2 separate regions of the Homo sapiens genome follow, and region 2 is linked to region 1. The links are contacts of gene promoters, found by promoter capture Hi-C in blood cells and fetal thymus (Javierre and others, 2016). All regions are on one chromosome and are shown on one strand. Each heading gives the region's core, a stretch centred on a gene start or on the middle of the fragment in contact. The rest is flanking DNA. Distances are from core to core; before and after follow the strand shown. Region 1 holds the start of NFU1 (NFU1 iron-sulfur cluster scaffold). Region 2 has its middle 23 kb from the start of ANXA4.

Region 1 (7,902 bases), core at 3,238-5,737:
GAGACGAGCCTGCCCAACATGGTGCAACTCCATCTCTACTAAAAATACAAAAAATAGCTGGGAGTGGTGGTGGGCGCCTGTAATCCCAGCTACTCGGGAGGCTGAGGCAGAGGAATCGCTTGAACCCAGGAGGCGTAGGTTGCAGTGAGCCGAGATCGTGCCACTGCACTCCAGCCTGGCCCAAAGAGCAAGACTCCATCTCCAAAAAAAAAAAAAAAAAAAGTATACGACTGTCCTTTTTGTTTTTGAGATGGAGTCTCACTGTTGTTGGCCCAGGCTGGAGTGCAATGGCACAATCTCGGCTCACTGCAACCTCCATCTCCCAGGTGCCAGCAATTCTGCTGCCTCAGCCTCCCGAGTAGCTGAGATTACAGGTGCCCGCCACCATGCCTGGCTAATTTTTGTACTTTTTAGTAGAGACAGGGTTTCACCATGTTGGCCAGGATGGTCTCGAACTCTTGACCTCAGGTGATCCTCCCGTATCGGCCTCCCAAAGTGCTGAGATTACAGGCATGAGACACCACACCTGGCCCGTCTTTTTTTTTTGAGACTGAGTCTCACTTTGTCGCCCACGCTGGAGTGCAGTGATGCGATCCCAGCTTACTGCAACCTCCACCTCCTGGGTTCAAGTGATTCTCTTGCCTCAGCCTCCCTAGTAGCTGGGATTACAGGTGTACACCATCACACCCGGCTAATTTTTATATTTTTAGTAGAGACAGGGTTTCACCACGTTGGCCAGGCTGATCTCCAACTCCTGACCTAAAGTGATCCACCTGCCTTGGCCTCCCAAAATGCTGGGATTACACAGCCAACGATCTTGATCACGCTTTTCGTGTTTTGTTTTGAGACAGGGTCTTGTTCTGTCACCCATGCTGGAGTACAATGGTGTGATCAGGGCTCACTGCAGCCTCAACATCCTAGGCTCAAGTGATTCTCCCACCTCAGCCTCCCAAGTAGGTGACACTACAGCTGTATGCCACCATGCCCAGCTAGTTTTTTTTTTTTTTTTTACTTCTGGTAGAGATGGATTACCACTATGTTGCTCAGGCTGATCTCCAGCTCCTGGCTCAAGTAATCCTCCCACTTTGGCCTCCCAAAGTGCTGGGATTATAGGCGTGAGCCACCATGCCCTGCCTTTTATATGCTTTTTGGATGGAAACATATTAACCCAGTGTTGTAACTTCACTTCACTTTTTTTTTTCTTTTTTTTTTTGTGAGACGGAGTCTTGCTCTGTCGCCCAGGATGGAGTGCAGTGGTGCGATCTTGGCTCACTGCAACCTCCGCCTCCTGGGTTCAAGCAATTCTCCGCCTCAGCCTCCCAAGTAGCTGGGATTATAGATGCCCACCACCATGCCCGGCTAATTTTTGTATTTTTAGTAGAGACAGGGTTTCACCATCTTGGCCAGGCTGGTCTTGAACTCCTGACCTCATGATCCACTAGCCTCGGCCTCCCAAAGTGCTGGGATTACAGGCGTGAGCCACAGCGCCAGGCCTCTAACTTTACTTCACTCTTACAGAGAAAACTTAATTGGCTATTTTTTATGGCTTTGACAAACTGAAAACAAAGGAAGAAAATGAAAGCAAATATTACTGGAAAAGGAAGTAAAAGGAGACTTTAATAGTAAAAATTCTTAAAATCCCAATGCAATTTACTTTAAAATCCGGTTTACTTGAAAATATCATCGCTATCCATTACCACTGCCACTTCATAGGAGCCATAGAAAAATTTTAAGTACAGGAGTCATTTATAATTGCCAATGGGTTCACTTTGCCCACTGTCCAGATACTGCTAATTCATCAAGACAGGGGATTTGCAATAAAGAGTTTAATTCACATGGAGCCAGCTGAAAGGGAGAGTGGAGTTTTAGTACTCAGTCTCTCTGGATCTGAGGCTAGGGGTTTTCAAGGATAGACTGGCAGGCCAGGGAACGGGTGTTGCTGACTGGTTGGGGATGCAATCATAGGGGTGCGGAAAATGATCCTCCTGAGTGCTCAGCCCGTTTGTGGGCGGGGCCACAGGACCAGTCAGAAATGCAAAAACCTGAAAAGGCTAATCTTAGGTTCTACAAGAGAGATGTTTTCTGCAGGAGTAATTGGGGAAGTTGCAACTCTTAGGACCGCCAGAATAATGGCTGGTAATCATTTACATCTACACCTTAGCAGAATTCAGGCTCCTCTCATCCTCCAAACCTGGTGGTCTTTCATTAGCTTTATAAAGGTGGTTTAATTTTGGGAAAGGGCTATTATCATTTAAACTATAAACTAAATGTCTCCCAAAGTTAGCTTGGCCCAAGCCCGGGAATGGGCAGTCTAGAGGTTAAAGGCAAAATGATGGTCAGTTAGAACGGTCTTTCACTGTCATAATTTTCTGTTAAAATTTTTTCCAAAGGCCAAAATTGTTTGTGATCATACACAAGATCACATTTATCTAATTATCTTCTGCTTAAAATAGGCAAGAAGCAACAGCGGCTGCCACATTTTTTTCTCTCTCTCACAAAACTGGAATTCTTCTCGTGGAAAAGAAAGAGTGGGCACCAATTAAGTATTAACAAAATACAGATGAACTGTTTACTACCTTCAATAATCTTTATATGCCATTGATAAGCAAAAGACTACTGGGATACTGTGGGACTGTAACCCATAGAGTTTCTTAGATGCTATTGGAGAGATAAAAGGATTGGCACCGAGGATTCAAGAGAACAATGGAATCAACACTGAATGGGAATCAAATAATCTGTGAAGTCCTGACTGCCACTCCCCACACTAGCTCCAGTGTTGATCACAGTAAGAGCTGTCACCACTTTATTTTGAGATGGAAATAATCTCGCTTTTCTCACTCTGTCACCCAGGCTGAAGTGCAGTGGCGTGATCTTGGCTCACTGCAACCTCCACCTCCCTGGTTCAAGCAATTCCCCTGCCTCAGCCTCCCAACTCGCTGGGATTACAGGCACACACCACCACGCCCAGCTTTTTTTTTTTTTTTTTTAGTTTCACCATGTTGGCCAGACTGGTCTCGAACTCCTGACCTCAGCCAATCCGCCCAGCTTGACCTCTCAAAGTGCTGGGATTACAGGCGTGAGCCACCACGCCCGGCACACCACTTTAAATTACATGAATCTATTACAGCACTCATGACTGTCATTATTTGTTAATATATTTTTCTTGCTAGACTGCATACTCATTAAGGGGAGAAACTATCTTCATTTCTAGCTGCTAGCACAATGGCCTCAGTTCTTCATCTCTACAATGAGATTAGTTTCACAGCTACCTCATAAATAATCCAGAGAATCCATGTAAAGTGCTTAAACCAGTGCCAGGCCATGCAGTAAGTGCTCAATAAATGGCAGCTGCTACCATTATTTAATTGGTGCCCAATAATTACTAATTGAGTGCAGTTCAAGGTTTGGGGTAAAAATGCCTTTTTCTATAGCTCAGTATCTAAATCTGTGAATACTCTGGAATTTGGAAATGCACTAGAAGAATAATATTCTCGTCCCTTCAGCCCAGGGAAAAGGCAGCAGAATGAATAAAGAGGAAGCACATTCCAACATACAGGTTTAAAGTCTTGTTTTTTTAAAGTAAGAGTGGATTACATTATTCAAGGAAGACATCTACTCAAACACAGGAGGTAACTAACAAAAAATTCTACCAACTTAAATCTTTTTAGGATATACATTTAAACTTCAAGAGCACCATTAACACTACAATGTCTAATACTCTAGAGGGCAAACTCTCCGTAGGCCATTTTCTCCAGACGTAAAATTAAGGTACACCTACATAAATGTCCTCTTAGCAATGTTCACAGAAGTCTTTGAAAGGTGAAACTCAAAGGTAGGGCTCAGGGAGGCGGAAAAAACAAGGGAACAGAGTGGGCTTAATGGTGGTGGGTGCAGGGAATCTAGGGGTCCTGGTTCTCGTCGGAATTCCATCACTTAGAAACTGTGTAACCTTGGACATGTCACCTCCTCTTTCAGGGCCTTACTGGGAAAATGAGGAAACGAGACAAGGTATTTTCTTCCCTTCTGTGTGACATTCTGATTCTGCGTTTAGAAGAGGAGGGAATGCACCCGGTAGAGGGCCTGGGGGCGGGAGAGGCACACGATTTTAAAACAGCTCCTCCGTTCTGGCTCTACAGCCAGTCTCTACAAGCTTCCGTACCGCAGAGACTCAAGAACTGGGTCTCTGAGCCTGAGAGGAAGCTCCAGAGAGTCCGCCCGGATTAGGCCACAGAAGCGCCGAGCTCCCGCACAGACAGCCTCAGGGCTCACCCCCAACTACGGCGACAGGGCGGACCCGCCGGCTCCATCAGATGCACTACCCACCCGCCTCGAGAGAGGGTCTGCAAGGCGGCGACCGCTCCGCTGGCTAAGCCCAGCGGCACACCTATTCGGAGCTCCAGGCTCGTCACCTACCGCCTGCGCAGCCCGGCGGCAACAGCCGCAGCTCCCCAGCCCCGCCTGGCCGTCGCCGCCATCTTAGTCCGGAGTGCCTAAGGGTCTCCCTGACAGAACCACGAAAGATCTGCGCAGCCGCAGGCTGGCCGGTAGCTGGGCGGGCACTGGGAAGAGCCCACCCTACCGGCTGCGGGCGGTCCTGCTGCGGATAAGTGCGGTGGCCTACGCGCCGAGGTTTGCAGGCTACTGCGTCACCCTGACCAAGAGAGGCCGGGGAACCTTTCCCGTTTGCGCCAACGCTTGGTTAATTCACGCAGCACTGTGAACGCATGCGTGTTTCCGTACTTTGTTTTCCCTGTTGGCTAGGTTTTTAGCTGGTGCTGGTGCTGCCTTGCGAATGCTGTTTCCAGCCCCTAAACCTGACCCATTCCCTCCTCTAGGACCCTACTCAGCCTCCAGGCCCAGCTCAGTGACTGCCCCCAAAGACTCCCTGGAGCATTCCTTCTAAAAGGTTCTCGCATTTCTCCTGCCCTTTTCCCATGGGTCTGATGTGGAACTGTGTCTAACCCTTCCTCATAGCTGTGCTTGTCAGCTGCCACTTGGTCATCTTGGACCAACCCGCACAGAGGATGTATCTGGTACAGTGCTGCCCTTCTCCGATTAACATGAGACTTGACTAGTTTCCAGGGCAGAGTGCCAAAGCCCATTACCTATTCTTCCAGAACCTTCCTGGAGTATTCCGTTTTCTCTAGGACAACGGTTCTCAAAGTGCGGACTAGGGGCCAAAAAAAAGCAGGAGAACACGTTAGAAATGCACGTTAGAACATGTTAGAAATCCTGGGCCCCACTTTATACTTACTGAGGCACAATCTCTGTAGGTGGGGACTAGAAATCTTTGTTACTTGCTTTTTTTTTTTTTCTTTTTCCAGAGACAGGGTCTATCTCTGTTGCCCAGGCTGGAGAGCAGGAGTGCGATCATAGCTCACCAAAACCAACTCCTGGGCTCAAGTGATTCATCCTCCAGCCTCAGCCTCCCAAAGCACTGGGATTACAGGTGTGAGCCACGGTGCCTGGCTTTTATTAGCAGTAGTAGTAGTAGTATTTTTGTAGAGAAGAGGTCTCCCTGTGTTGCCTGGGCTGCTCTTGAACTCTGCTGGCCTCAAGTGATCCCTCTCACCTGGGCCTCCAAAAGCTCTTAGGTTACCTCACCCTGCCTAGTAGTGTTTTAACAAACCCTTCCCAGGATTCTGATGCCAGCTAAAATTTGAGAATCACTGTTCTGGAAGACAGAGGACTGGTTTCCAGAATGGAAACAGCACACCTGTTGTTGAACAGGTTGAGGCCACACCCAAGACAACCCTAGTAATTTCTATGGCCCACAGACACATCTAAGAGGGTGGGTGGGTTTCAGGCCTGCAGCTCGCCCGGGCCCGCACACTGAGTGGGCTGTGCCTCCTACGAGTTTGGTTCATTCCCAATGCTGCGTACTTGCTTTTAACTACTAGTGATCTTCCCCCATCCAACCCCCCACCCAGTGATCTTCCCCCATCCAACCCCCCACCCACCCCCCCACACACACCCATTCTAGACCGCAAGGCAGTCCAAGGCTCTGTTTTTGACCCTCAATCAAAAATAAAATGTGGCTCTTCCACCTTGGAACAATCGTTCTTCTCAGACTTCAATTTTTCCCTCTCTGATGGATTCCTTATCATAAGAAAAATCCTGCCTTGCCCCAAATCCTCTTCCACACTCTTTTCTTCCCTTCAGAACCAAGTGGCTTAAAAAAATGGTCTGCACTCTTAGTCTCTAGTTTTTCACTTCCCACTCCTCAAACCCCTGAAACGAGGCTTCTATGTCCCACCATTCTTAGGGCCTGCTCTAGTCAAACCACCCACAGCCTCTGTGCTACTGTGTCCGGAATTGGTGGGTTCTTGGTCTCGCTAACTTCAAGAATGAAGCCATGGACCCTTGTGGTGAGTGTTACAGTTCTTAAAGATGGTGTGTCCAGAGTCTGTTCCTTCAGATGGTCAGATGTGTCCGGAGTTTGTTTCTTCTGGTGGGTTCGTGGTCTCACTGACTTCAGGAGTGAAGCTGCAGACCTTTGCGATGGGTGTTACAGTTCATAAAGACAGCACGGGCCCAAAGAGTGAGCCACATCAAGATTTACTACAAAGAGCAAAAGAACAAAGCTTTCATAACATGGAAGGGGACCCAAGCAGGTTGCCACTGCTGCCTCAGGCACCCTGCTTTTATTCCCTTATCTGACCCCACCCACATCCTGCTGATTGGCCCATTTTACAGAGAGCTGATTGGTCCATTTTACAGAGTACTGATTGGTTTGTTTTACAGAGAGCTGATTGGTCCGTTTTGACAGGGTGCTGATTGGTGCGTTTACAATCCCTGAGCTAGACATAGAGTGCTGATTGGTGTATTTACAATCCTCTAGCTAGAGTAAAAGTTCTCCAAGTCCCCACTAGGTTAGCTAGACACAGAGCACTGATTGGTGCATTTACAAACCTTGAGCTAGACACAGGGTGCTGATTGGTGTATTTACAATCCTTTAGCCAGACATAAAAGTTCTCCAAGTTCCCACCAGATTAGCTAGATACAGAGTGCTGATTGGTGCATCCATAAACCCCAAGCTAGACACAGAGTGCTGATTGATACATATACAATCCTCTGGCTAGACATAAAAGTTCTCCAAGTCCCCACCTGACTCAGGAGCCCAGCTGGCTTCGCCTAGTGGATCCCATGCCAGGGCCATGAGCAGAGCTGCCTGCCAGTCCTGCACCACAAGCCTGCACTAGAAAAAGTATCAGGCCCAGAGAGGCATTTAAAATGTAGCAGCAGTAATATCTCATTCGCCCTTGAGCTAAGTAACAACTTCTTGAAGTCACTTGCTATGTATACACTAGACTAATGTCAAGAAGCCGTTAACATGCCATATACCCTATAGTTCAACAGTGCATGGCCAGTCACTAACAATGTTATTTCTGTAAACCAATGAGAATACCTGCTGAGCATGGTGGCTCACACCTGTAATCCCAACACTCTGGGAGGCCAAGGTGGGCAAATTGCTTGAGCCCAGGAGTTTGAGACCATGCTGGGAAACATGGAGGGTTTACAAGCATGAGCCACTAACCCTGGCAGAATAAAAACATGTTATCTGAGGAAGGTGAGCCCCTTTAAATTATGAGGCCCATTGACTAGCCTAAAAAAGAAAAGTATCAGGGCCGGGTGCTGTGGCTCACGCCTCTAATCCCAGCACTTGGGAGTCTCTACAAACAAACCATGTCTCCACAAAAAATTAGCCAGATGTCATGGCATATGCCTGTAGTGCCAGCTATTTGGGAGGCTGAGATGAGAGAATCACCTGAGCCTGGGAAGTTGAGGCTGCAATGAGCCGTGATTGCACCACTGCACTCCAGCCTGGGTGACAGCATGAGACCCTGTCTCAAGAAAAAAAAAAAGTCAAATGAGAATACCTGATGAGCAACTTTTGTAATT
Region 2 (7,902 bases), core at 1,782-4,281, 280 kb after region 1:
CATAGTACCTACTATGTCCCAGATAATTTGCCTAGGTTTTTAACCCTCACAACACATCCCTAAAACATTGTACAGATGCAAATGCAGAGGCACGAAGAGGCTTAAAACATTCCCAAAGTCACATAGTTACTATAAAGCCAGTAACTGGCTCTATGTCTATCTGAGTCCAAAATGTGTTTTGTCCCCTTCTGTGCCTATGCACAGAGGGCAGTGGGAACATAAATGGAGGTGGAGGGAGGGGTAAGAAGGAGACATCAGTGGTCTACCCTCTTTATGTGATAACAGACTCCCTCTTTTATCTGGCAGCTGCTCCCTCAAGAGGAATACCCATTCTTTCTTCCTAGGTCAAGAAAGAGAGTCCAAGGCATGGTCAATCACAACACTGTCCCTCTAGTCATGGGCCAAGTGCTGGGCACACGTCACCAGCCAGGCTACTCTTAGCCTTTCCCATAATTTTAATAACCTGAGACTGGGAGAAAGAAGCCTCACTCTCTCCTGGAGTGATCAAACTGTATGTAAGTCTAGAGTTCTCTGTGAGTACAGTCTCCTCTAGCAAGAAAGGATGAGACCAACTCATAATAAGAAGCCAAAATACATGTACATATGAGTAAGAGAGAGAGAGAGAGCTGACAGCATTGTTTGGGTGTCTGGATCTAGCCATTCCTGTGGTGGCTCTGTCTAGTCCTTACTTAAATGAGTTAATACATCCCCTTTTAACTGAAGCTAGTTTGTGTTGGGTTTCTGTCCCTTAAAGTCAAGAGTCCTGAGAAATACAATACTGGTCAAAAAAAGTCTTCATAGAACAGGTGAACCAGGAAAAAAGGGATTCACCAGAAAGATAAGAGGAGAGGCAGAGGGTGAACGTAACAGCAGCTGCACTCGAGGAACTGCGAGCAGCTCAGGATGACTTGAGCTGAGATGTGCAGAGGGGGTTGGAGAGACGGGCGAGAGCCACATCAGGGAAGGCCTTGTTTGTCAGGTTAAAATGTTTGGTCTTTATGTGAGGGCGACAGGGAGCCCCCAAAGGGTTTCAAGCAGTGGTGTGACATGCTCAAGCTCGTTTTGAGAAGATCACTCGGGAGAACGGGTCTGAGAGACAGCACAACAGGAGGGCAGCGGATTAGTTATGAGGCTGCTCCGGGAATCCAGGTGAAGAGCTCAGGATGGAAAATGACTCGACGTTTTTGACTTGGTCATTGGCCAGAGGGGAGGGCAAGAACGAAAAGAGTTGTGTTTTGTTCATGTGCAGTTTGAAGTAAGTATCATACATTTAAATGGAATTGTCCAGTAGGTTTACTAAAAGAGATGACAGAGTTGGCGATGTTTAAGTTTTTCTGAGTCATCAATTCAGCTGTTTGCTGTCTGCCTACTACTGGCCAAGCACTGTGTGGAGGAGAACACCGTCCAGCCTCTGCTCCCTGGCATCACACTGTGGCAAGACAAAACAGATGATAACCAGAGAAACCAATCAAGAAACAAGGGAAGTGCAGGGGAGACCGTAAAGCAGCATCGTGTAGCAGAGGGGCTGGGGTGGGGGCTCCATCTCTTCAGTGGTCCTGGAAGGAGGAGCTGACGCCCTGAGGGTGCAGGAGGTGGCTGAAGATGAATATTCTCCAATTCATGCCCACTGAATAGGAACATGCCCATTTAAAAGCATCCATATGCATTTTGTTTGGCTTGTTGGTTTTCTTTGCCTGCCTATGCCTTCAAAGCTGGCATTGAGGTGGCAGGAGGCTTCTGTGCAGAAAACTGAGGCTGGTGCTGGAAAACTCCCACCATGGCCCCTTTGTTCTCATCCAGTGCCTTTCATCCCACACTCCCAAAGCCCATCCTGGCGCCCACCCTTTAATTGTCAGGCCTGGCTCATCGACACAAGCAGGTGGCATTTGATCATTATTCCTGCATCATAAATGAGGGTAACAAAGGCCTCCCTCTCCAGGGTATCAGCCAATATTATTTTGTGAGTTCAAGGGATCTGACTTTGAGTTGAAGCAGAAAGGCCTGATGTCCCATCCTTTTCATTTCTGGAATTACCCGTCGCTGCATCTTTCTGTTACCGCCATTTCCTCTTTAACTCCACGTATCTAACTGGAAACTTTGCTTTTCTTTGTTTCATCTTCTTTGGAATATGTTGTTCCCTGTGACCCCTCCCCACAAAGCCTTGCCTCTGCAGCAGATGCCCTGAGCCTTCCTGATGCCTGGGACTGGTACCTCATCCAGTTTGCTTGTTTCAGGCACTAACTAAACTAGAATGTGCCTGGATCCCTATGGGCCTTGGCTTTCTACCAGATGACAGGCAAACTAAGAGACGTACACAACCTATGCACTCCCTTCCCTCTAGAATGTTTCAGCAGGGGTCCTCTAAGTAAGAAAGCTGGAATTAAAAGGAATAGTTTTAATGGGGAAACCCTGGCTAGGGAGATGCTTGATACCCTAAGGCTGTATGTCTAGCTAGGTCAGGCATAGCTCAGTGCGGTCTGCATTTCATAGCAGATGTTTAGTTTGGAAAGTCCCCTGGCTACTTGGCTTCTAGAGCCCTCTCTCACCATGGGACTTCTCTGTGGGAGGACAGAACTCATCAATCACATTCTCCAAATGTCAAGTTCCTGCTGTGTAACCCCAGGAGAACCTTGCTTCCCATCTACATAACAGAAGTGAGGACCCCAGATTTGCTAGACAAAAGCTTGAACCTGTGGGGAAAGGTCCCCCCAGCTGGTCAGAATTCCCAAAGAAGGCTACCACTGGGAGATGGATTGCAATATAAATGGCACCCCCACCCTCTGGATGTTTGTCATTTCACCCTTCCTTCTTTACCTGACAATCTCTTAAGAGATTCTTGGGGGGATGTAATACACCAGCCAGGAACTAAATTATATTCAACTTTCTCAAGTAGATACTATTTCAGCTACGTTTGGGAAATGCTTAGCCAGAATTTGAGGTCACTGGAAGAGGTCATAGAATCACTCAGGTTCAGACTTGTGGAATTACTTACACTTTCCAGAACCTGTCATGACTTCTTTGGCTCCAGGGCTTTATACCTGCTGCTTCTTGTGCTTTGGGGTTTCCTTCTCTCCCACCAGCCCTATCCACAGCACACACATGCATACACAAACATGTACACACGTATACACATGCATGCATGCACATGCGCACACATGCACACACATGCATACACAAATGCACACACATACATGCATACACACACATACACACACATTCACACACATGCATACACATACGTGCATACACACACATGCTGCACACATGCACACACATATACATGCACACACATACATGCATACACATGTGTGCATACGCACATGCATACACACACATGCATACACAGCATGGCCTCTGCTTGTCCTTCCAGAGTCTCTTATAAAGCTTTTCCTGATATTCCAAGTCTCAAGCTAGCTACCCTCCTTTTTTTTTTTTTTGTGACTGAGTCTCACACTGTCACCCAGGCTGGAGTGCAGTGGCACAATCTCGGCTCACTGCAACCTCCACCTCCTAGGTTCAAGTGATTCTCCTGCCTCATTCTCCCAAGTAGCTGGAATTACAGGCACCTGCCACCACGCCCAGCTAATTTTTTGTATTTTTAGTAGAGACAAGGTTTCACTATGTTGGCCAAGCTGGTCTTGAACTCCTGACCTTGCCACACCCCCATTTTTACAGTTTTCTAACCATTGACTATTTTCCAGTCTTTTTTTTTTTTTTTTTTTTTTTTTTGAGGCAGGGTCTCGCTCTGCACCCAGGCTGGAGTATGATAGTGCAACCATAGCACATTGCAGCCTCCTGGGCTCAAGAAAGCCTCCTGCTTTCAGCCTCCTGAGTAGCTGGGACTACAGGTATGTGCCACAACATCCAAGTAATTTTTAAAAATTATTATTATTTTTTTTTGAGACGGAGTCTTGCTCTGTTGCCCAGGCTAGAGTGCAGTGGTGCAATCTCGGCTCATTGCAAACTCTGCCTCCCGGGTTTGAGTGATTCTTGTGCCTCAGCCTCCTGAGTAGCTGGGATTACAGGCGCCCACCAACACACCTGGCTAATTTTTATATTTTTAGTAGAGACAGGTTTCACCATGTTGGCTGGGCTGGTCTCGAACTCCTGACCTCAAGTGATCCACCTGCCTCAGCCTCCCAAAGTGCTGGGATTACAGGCATGAGAAACCATGCCCTGCCTAAAATTATTTTTTGAATTATTAATTATACAAAAATCATTAGTTAAAAATCATTAAATTTTGTATTTTTAGTAGAGATGGGGTCTCACTATGTTGCCCAGGCTGGTCTCAAACTCCTGCTTAAGTGATCGTCCCACCTTGGCCTCCCAAAGTGCTAGGATTACAGACATCAGTCACTGTGCCTGGCGAAGTCTTTACCAATTGGCAATAAGCTCTCTGGTTGTCATTACAGTTCCAACGTGCCAGGCAACCAGTAAATGATCAATAAATATTGGCATTTTGGGTGAATACATAGGTCATTAGTGCTACTGTTCTGCTTTGACTCTCATTCAGATTAGGAACGAGCTCCCCCTCCAAATAAGCAAGCAGACTAGAGACTATTTCCTGAGAATGTAATTCCGATTCAATTCAGAATTTGTTTCATATGCTCAGGACTTGGCCCTCGGAGGGCTGGGGAGAGGGAAACAAGCAATACTAATTGTAATCTCTGCCTTCAATTTTCCCCTTTTTGAACATAGTACTAGTGTTGGCCACCTCTCTGCACTGCTTCAAATCCCCCCGGTCCCTCCTCTCGCTCCATCAGTGCCTTGGTGACCACTTTCACGCAGGCTTTGCCAACTGCACATGTTCAAAGGCTCATAGGTGAAAGAGCACAGTGCATCCATGGAACTTCAAGAAATTCAGGGGAGCTGAAGCAAAGTTCATTCACGGTGGGGAGGAGCAGAGGCAGTGAGGGGAAGAAGTGAGGATGGAGGGCTCTGCATGGGATGCAGCATGAAGGACCTTCCAAGAGTGCAAAGTTATGTATCCTGATGGCAAGGGGCAGCCATGGAAGATTTTGAGTAGGGAAGTGACTTGATCAGATTTATGTTTTTAAAAGATTCCTCTTGCTGCAATATGGGAAATTGACCAGAGGGGGCACAGCTGGAGGCAGAAGTCCAGTTGGTAATTAGACATTCTCAATCTGCCTATATGTGAACATCATTAAAGAAATACCCAGAGGAGGGGTCCAAATGTCACTTTTTTTTTCTTCCAGGTCCCCTCAGTGATTCCTGTGTGCACCCAGGGTTGAGAACTACTGCATAAGAGGTCCTAGAAGATATCTGGTATGGCCAGAGTACAGAGGGACCGGAGGTAAGCCAGGAGAGACATGCAGAGCAAAGAGTTGAGGTCTCCATCTTCTGTGGGCAGCATCTGGCCTGTTCTGCTTCCTCTGATTCTCACCAAAGTGTTGGCCCAAATGATTTTTAAATTTGAATTCATTGCCATTATTAAACATATATAGATGTCACACAAAATATCCAGATTTCTGCTCCTCTAAGAAACTTGGGAGGTCTGGCCACCCTGGGCCTGCATGCCCCCATGGCAATAAATCAAGCCCTGGCTGCTGCTTCACATGTGGCATGGACTCTCCGAGCTGCCACAGCCCGGCCACTCTTTGTCAGTTCCCACCACTGCAGCCAAAAGCCAGCTGCTGTTTTTCATCTCTTACCCAGCCTGTTTGCTCATTTAAGCTAATTGTCTAGTCCCTGTTGAGATTGGAGTTTAGATCTCAAAAGCTAGACTCTACAGGGTGGGTAGGCCTGTTAATGATTTTGTTATTTACCCTGGAAGCACTGCAAAGGCATTGGAAGGTTTCACGTAGAGCAGCAATAACACAAGCAAATCTGATGTCGAAAGATCACTCTGGCTGGCCTTGGTGGCTGATGCCTGCGATCCCAGCACTTTGGGAGGCTGAGGCAGGAGGATTGCTTGAGCCCAGGAGTTGGAGACAAGGCTGGCAAGACCCTGTCTCTACAAAAAAAATTGAAAAGTTAACCAGGCACGGTGGAACACGCCTGTAGTCCCATATACTTGGGAGGCTAAGGTGAGGATTGCTTGAGCCTGGGAGGTAGAGGCTGCAGCAAGCTGTGATCATGCCACTGCATTCCAGCCTGGGCAACAGAGTGAGACCGTCTCAAAAAAAAAAAAATTACTCTGGATTGTTTAAACTCCAGGTAAGCAGCTATTTGACTAGACAATAAGGACAAATCAAGACCTCCCCCAGTCTCCTCTGGCTCTTTTATAGAAAAACCTTTATTATATTCCTGTAGTTAATTTTCAGTAAGAATGGATATTTTCACCAATATTTTTTGTCAGAAATAACAGGAGAAACAGCAAGTTAGGATGAAAATGGAATTGAACTAGATGGTGAAAGGTTTGGATTTGAATCCTAAGTGACTTTGACACTGATTCTTTTACCTTGGCTATCCTCTTCTATAAAATAGAAATAATAATATTAGACTCTCCTAAGTATCTCACAGGGTCATTGGGAAGATTAAATAAAAAAAAATGACCAGTGTTTTATAACCTTCAAAGTGATTCATGGATGTAAAATATTGTTATCATTATTCATTTATTTACCAAACTCACACCCATTCCTACTGTGTATTTGGCCTGTGCTAAGTCTGGGGATGTAAAAATGAATGAGACCAACCTTAAAGGTCTATGGTCTATTGGAAGTAGCAGTGATGTAAAGACATAATTATAGGTATATACTCAAAAGAATTTAAAACAGAGACTCAAACTCACGCTTGCATGCCAGTGTTCACGGCAGCGTTATTCGCCATAGCCAAAAAGTGGAAACAGCCCAAGTGTCCATCAACAGATGAATGGATCAGAATATGGTATGTATATTCAATGGAATATTATTCAGCCATATAAAGCAGTGAAGTTCTGACACATGCGGCAACATGGATGAGCCTTAAAAACATTACATTAAGTGAAATAAGGCAGACGCAAAAGGACAAATATTATATGATTCTACTTGTATAAAATATCGGGAACAGGCAAATTCATAGAGACAGAAAGGAGATTAGAGGTTACTAGGGTCTCGGGGGAGGTAGGAATGGGGATTTACTGCTTAATGGATACAGACTTTCTGTTGGGGGTGATGAAAAGTTTTAGAAATAGTGATGATAGTTGCACAACATCGTGAATTTAATTAATGCCACTGAATTTATGCACGTCAAAATGTTTAAAACGGCAAATTTTATGTTATATGTATTTAACTACAATAAAAAATAGCAAAAACAAATAAATGGGTCAGAGTTCAACTAAAGACAATAGAAAAAAGCGCAGAGTAAACCTAAAGAAAGAATAATGAAGGAAATAGGCCGGGCATGGTGGCTCATGCCTGTAATCCCAGCACTTTGGGAGGCCGAGGTGGGCGGATCACGAGGTCAGGAGATCAAGACCATTCTGGCTAACATGATGAAACTCCATCTCTACTAAAAATACCAAAAAATATATATATATATATATATTAGCCGGGCATGGTGGCACGATCCTGTAGTCCCAACTACTAGAGAGGCTGAGGCAGGAGAATCGCTTGAACCTGGGAGGTGGAGGTTGCAGTGAGCCGAGATCATGCCACTGTACTCCAGCCTCGGCGACAGAGCAAGACTGTCTCAAAAAAAAAAAAAAGTATAATGAAGGAAATAATAAAGATAAGAGCAAACACCAATGAAATAGAAAACAAAGAAACAATAAGCTGATTCAGGGGGAGGTAAAAGCTACTAAATAAATATGTAGTAATTATAATAAGATGTGCTAAAAGATGCCTCCAAAGTGATATGAAGAAACTCCTGAACTCCAGAAGGCTTCAAAAAAAAGACAAGCTTTTTGCAGTGTGGACTAGGGGAGGAGAGCAGGCATTTTCTAGGGCAAGGATGTGGTGATGA

Evidence for each region. The method cuts DNA at HindIII sites, captures the fragments that hold promoters and counts their contacts. A CHiCAGO score of 5 or more calls a contact.
Region 2: a fragment that was not itself captured here is called in contact with the fragment with the promoter of NFU1 in region 1 in 1 of 17 cell types (total B cells); the score reaches 6.7 in total B cells.

The regions. Positions count from the first base shown.
Region 1 is chr2:69,432,948-69,440,849 of GRCh38, forward strand. NFU1 (NFU1 iron-sulfur cluster scaffold) reads right to left here and starts at 4,488. Exons shown (of 8, transcript NM_001002755.4): 1 at 4,414-4,488. The coding sequence starts at 4,475. RefSeq lists an enhancer at 4,344-4,493. The HindIII fragment of the contact is 2,434 bases long and covers 4,149-6,582 here.
Region 2 is chr2:69,715,558-69,723,459 of GRCh38, forward strand. It overlaps a transcript of ANXA4 not described here. Among named protein-coding and RNA genes, the nearest start is that of ANXA4, 23 kb to the right of the region's middle. The HindIII fragment of the contact is 701 bases long and covers 2,682-3,382 here.